Linked DNA regions of Homo sapiens: region 1 is linked to region 2. The links are contacts of gene promoters, found by promoter capture Hi-C in human tissues and cell types (Jung and others, 2019). All regions are on one chromosome and are shown on one strand. Each heading gives the region's core, a stretch centred on a gene start or on the middle of the fragment in contact. The rest is flanking DNA. Distances are from core to core; before and after follow the strand shown.

Region 1 (2,700 bases), core at 200-2,699, 180 kb after region 2:
GACTTTCAAAAACAAGGGACACCTGACTTTCTGGCACTGCCAACTTCAGAAGGGTAGCTATGGGGCTTAAATGAGATGGTATATATAAGTCACTTACAAAAGTACCTGGCTTGGGAGGGGAACAACACACACTGGAGCCTGTTGGGGGTGGGGAGAGGGAGAGCATCAGGATAAATAGCTAATGAATGCTGGACTTAATACCTACATGACGGGTTGATAGTTGCAGAAAACCACCATGGCACACGTTTACCATGTAACAAACCTGCATGTCCTGCACATGTATTCCAGAACTTAAAATAAAAATAAAAAAGAGAGTGCCTGGCTCATAGTAAATGCTTAGAAAATGTTAACTATCATCACCAGAGTTAGGAAATTATTATTTGACACATGGATCTCCACAATGAATGAATGGGAATGAAGGAAGAAAATGAGTATTTACTGAATATTCACTGGGGCCACGTGAAAGATTTTCGACATTTTGACTCTCTTCATCCTCACCCAACTTTGCAACATCATTGTAGATGACTGTTTAGGGTTCTTCAGCAAACTAGTGGTTGAGCCAGAATGTACTGCCCATGCTATGTTAGGCAGATTTGATCAGTGTTTCAGAGTAACATTTTATTGTGAACTAATTATGCCACGCACTCCATAAGGTGAGACCATATGCATATGCTCGAATTGCACTGGGCAGCTAATCTACCACCTCATTAAGCTGTCTCCAAATGAAAGAACAGATCAAAGCATAACATGAAAATGACTTATGTTTATTTATGCACATAAATCCAGAAGGGGAAAAAAATCTTCATGCAGGGAAAATCTTCTAAGGAAGACTTCTCACTCTGGAAAAATTATTAGGTATAGGTGTCTTTGCCATCCTCCACTCTTTTCTTCAATGCCTAATACCTCCTAGTACACTAACATCCTCAATACATTTATTCATAAAGTCCCTTTCACTCACAAAGTATTAACTAAAGTGGGTCGGGTGCAGTGGCTCACACCTGTAATCCCAACATTTTGAGAGGCTGAAGGGGGCAGATCACTTGAGGTCAGGAGTTTGAGACCAGCCTGGCCTGTTTAACATGGTAAAACTTTGTCTCTACTAAAACTTCAAAAATTAGCTGGGTGTGGTGCGCACTTGTAATCCCAGCTACTTGGGAGGCTGAGGCTGGAGAATCACTTGAACCCAGGAGATGGAGGTTGCAATGAGCTGAGATTGCACCACTGCACTCTAGCCTGGGCAACAGAGCAAGACTGTTTAAAAAAAAAAAAAAAAAGAAGCGTCTTAAGGTAGTAATCCTTTCAGCACTAGATGCATTTTAAATCAGGATTTTGAGTGACATAAAATCTTTAAGACTCTAAAGGAGGTAAGAAATCTGTAATGCTGGAATTCTAGGAATTATAAGATAGTAAGGGAGAATTTGGGGACAGGATATTGTCCTAGACCTTTCAAAATATACCAGATATTCCACCTTTGAGTCAACTAAGGGAACTGGGCTTTTAAAAACATCAATTTCTTGACCTATTTAGTTTATGAACTATTTCTTATAGCCCTGTGCTATAAAAACTGGTTTTCTTTTACTGCCATGATATGTACCACCCTTTTTTTTTTTTTTTTTTTTTGAGACGGAATCTCGCTCTGTTGCCCAGGCTGGAGTGCAGTGGCACGAGCTCGGCTCACTGCAAGCTCCGCCTCCTGGGTTCACACCATTCTCCTGCCTCAGCCTCCCGAGTAGCTGGGAGTACAGGCGCCTGCCACCAAGCACAGCTAATTTTTTTTTTTTTTGTATTTTTAGTAGAGACAGGGTTTCACCGTGTTAGCCAGGATGGTTTCAATCTCCCGACCTCGTGATCCACCCGCCTCGGCCTCCTGATATGTACCACCTCTTTTAAAGATGTTCATTAAAAAAAAAAAAAAAAAAAAAGTTTAAACATGTGTTGCTTTCATCTGTACTTATTTGGCCCAGTGGGGTCAATAGAGAACAGAACACTTCCCCTTAGGTAACTGCTATGGTCTGAATATGTTCTCCCAAAATTCATATGATGAAGTTTATTTGCCTCCAGAAGACACATCAACAAGGCACCATGTTGGACACACACAGACATGGATGTCACCAGACTCTGAACCTACTGGTGCCTTGATCTTGGATTTCCCAGTCTCCAGAACGGTGAGAAATAAATTTCTATTCTTTATAAATTACCCAGTCTCAGGTATTTTGTTAGCAACAAAAATGAACGAAGATAGTAACTAATAATTACATATTTGGGGCTCCAGATTTTCTTCCTAATGAGAAATATTTAGGTACTTAAATTATCCTGCATTCATATAAGCCTATTGCTCTGTGCATAGGAAATAGTTCATTTTCAGTTTCCATAAGTGCTCTACTCTGCCTTCTCCTCACCCCAGCCTCACCAAAATCTTCCTAATAACAATCACTCCACGTCTTTGGTTTGTTTAAAATCTCCTTTCCCTACCCAGTGTTGTATTTTGTCTATAGTAGATACTCTATACAAACTGTTTTGTTACTATTTCAGAAATTTGAAACATTAAAAGATACTTCTTTTAATCCTCAAAAAAATATATAAATTTAAATTGGTAGCAGGTAGGTCTTTTTAGGAGGAAAAAGACCTGTGATTCAGGAACATTTAGGAATATTAACTCTGGGCACATGATCAAAAAGTAGGGTCTGTTAAAAGTCATTA
Region 2 (2,751 bases), core at 96-2,595:
AAAGATTTGTGAATGAGTAAATGGTGAGTTGGCTGGGGGAAGGGCTTCAACTTCTATAACCCCCCCTACACATACTTACTAATACACCCACATAGCTATGAATACATATATGCAAAGGTTACAAGAACTTTTTGGAGTAGTTACTGGTATGTATGTGGATATGTATGTTTGTGCCTATCAGTTAGTAATCCATAAATGTTCATTTAAATCTTTACACCCTTATACATAGGTTTTAAAAACAATTTAACTAAAGCTAAGAGAAGTAAAGTAATCACGTGCACAATAAGTGAGAAAGGAGTGGGGTCAGTCGTGTCCCAAGTCCCTGTTAAAGGTGAGGAATGAATCAGAAACCTGGGGCTGGGGCAGTGCCTTCTCAGCATTTCTGGGGAAAAGCTCCTCGACCAGCAGCCAAGCAAGGACTGTGTGGCTTTGGGCAAATCACGTCACCTCTGGTTAGGCTGCATCCTCACCTGAAAACAAAAAGCTTCTAAACGGGAGGTGAACGCTGAGCGTGCAGGGACAGAGGGGAGGGGCAGGCGCGGGGGACGGGACCGGGGGACCAGAAGGTGGAGGAGGGACAGTCACTAATGGGCACCTGGGGGACGACAGAATCTGGACAACAAACTCCCGTGACACGAGTTTAACCTATGTAACACACCTGCACACGGACTCCTGAACCTAACATAAAAGTTAAATTAAAAATAAAAACAAAAAGCGTGGGCCCAGTGGCCTCTTAAACCTTTGCCAGTTCCAAGGCCCTGGTATTCTGGGCTTTTGTTGCTACTGTTTTGTTTTTTCCAAGCTCTGGAGTGTTTGCAAATTTAAGTTTAACACTGCCCCATCATCTCCAGCAAGTCACTTTCCCTGCTCAGTCTCCTCACGGGTCCAGTGAGGCGCCGGCCTACAAGGATCTTCACGGTCTCTTCCATTCTTTACTTTTCGGAGTGACCAACAAAGCCTAAAGCAAATAAAATTTACACTCGCAGGTGGGTGACGGACTTCTGACAGGGAAAACCCCGAGGGAGCCCTTTCCACACCGATTCTCAAGGGGAAAATAGGGTGGGCAGGATCTCCTCCCCTCACCCGCCAAAGCCCTGAGGTAAAGCTCTGAGCTCGGCAAGTCAGAGAGCACTACGCCGGCGAAGAACGAAGAAAGAAAAACGCGAAGAGACAGGTCTGCCGAGGCCTCATCCCCAGCGCTGCAAACCCACCTGCTCACCAGGTCCTCAGAGACCGCTCAGGGTTTCCCAAACTTCCAGAACGTTCCGTGAGCAGTGAGAGGCGCCGCCGGTAGGGCAGAGCGCCCAGGGTGCCTGGGGCAGGGTTCTGCAGTCGCTGGGCTTCTGCGCAACCGCAGACCCCGCAAACCTTTTCCGCGCTTCTGGCTCCCTAGAGCGAGGTTTGCAGGAAGCCGGAAGTGGTTAAGAAGATACAAGATTTGTAGGCCTGGCGCGGTGGCTCATGCCACTAATCCCAGCACTTTGGGAGGCCGAGGTGGGCGGATCACGAGGTCAGAAGTTTGAGACCAGCGTACCAACATGGTGAAACCCCGTCTCTACTAAAAATGCAAAAATTAGCTGGGCATGGAGGCGCGCACCTGTAATCCCAGCTACTCGAGAGGCTGGGGCAGGAGAATCGCTTGAACCCAGGAGGCGGAGGTTGCAGTGAGCGAGATCGCACCACTGCACTCCAGCCTGGGTGACAGGGCAAGACTCCGTCTCAAAAAAAAAAAAAAAAAAAAAACAAGATTTTTGCGTGTTAGACTCAGTTGTCCGGAATTGATTTTCACAGTTTTCTAAAATTCAGGCTCAATTCTTAGATTTCTGTCATTTGCAACATAAAATCAAAGTGGCCTTCAGTTTATCCAAATTATGAAAAAGGTAGATTTTCATGAGCAGCTGTCAAAAGGACATACAGGGGCCTGTGTGTTTGCTTTTTAGGACCCCATTATGTTCAGACCTAATTGAAGCTCAGCAATTTATTAAGTGTCACAATCATAAAAATGTAAAAAGACAAAGACCACTACTTGCCTTGAGCCTAATGGTTAGGATACAAAACTATGTGCCTTACTTTGTAAAACAGGTATTCCTGTAGAAAGAAAGGTGCTCCAGGAAAAATCCTTTGGAGCACACTTGTGATGTGCTGTTAATTTTTCCCTGTGATAACCATTTTGTATGTTTGGCATTTTGTATAACTGATATTAAAATTAGGTGCACTCTTGCTGCCTCATTTGGGCAGTTTGTTAAGCCACCACACCTGGCCTCTTGTTTATAAATTACCTGGTCTAAGGTATTTTGTTATCGTGGCCATAATGGACTAAGACAATTCCTCCTCTCTTCAAATCTCCAGAACTTATTCCTCATCTTCATTTTCGGCTGAAGTGAAATAGTTACTGCTAATATTTCATAAAGATTTATGATTTTAATAGTATTTAGTATTTAATATTAAATACTATTCAAATGAGATAAATAAAAGCATCCAGAAACGAAGTTCCACAGATGTCCACCTACCAATCTACCAACATCTATATGCCAGATTCTGCTTTCTTTCCAACTATAGTAGGTGAACTGTATAATCCTATGTAAGGCCAGCCCTCAAATGGACAACAGAGCCCATCTCTTCTTGCTTACCCAAGAATATAGCTCCACCGGCCAGTCGCGGTGGCTCACGCCTGTAATCCCAGCCCTTTGGGAGGCTGAGGCAGGTGAATCACAAGGTCAGGAGATCAAGATCAGCCTGGCCAATATGGCA

Evidence for each region. Contacts are between HindIII fragments. The study calls those that stand out against the background at their distance.
Region 1: a fragment that was not itself captured here is called in contact with the fragment with the promoter of C1orf146 in region 2 in 2 of the 25 tissues and cell types used here (dorsolateral prefrontal cortex and stomach).

Annotation. Positions count from the first base shown.
Region 1 is chr1:92,033,220-92,035,919 of GRCh38, reverse strand. All of the region lies in intron 2 of EPHX4 (epoxide hydrolase 4), which reads right to left. Among named protein-coding and RNA genes, the nearest start is that of EPHX4, 4.6 kb to the right of the region's middle. The HindIII fragment of the contact is 5,392 bases long and covers 1-2,700 here.
Region 2 is chr1:92,216,509-92,219,259 of GRCh38, reverse strand. It overlaps C1orf146 (chromosome 1 open reading frame 146), which reads right to left and starts at 1,345. Exons shown (of 6, transcript NM_001012425.2): 1 at 1,212-1,345. The HindIII fragment of the contact is 16,370 bases long and covers 1-2,751 here.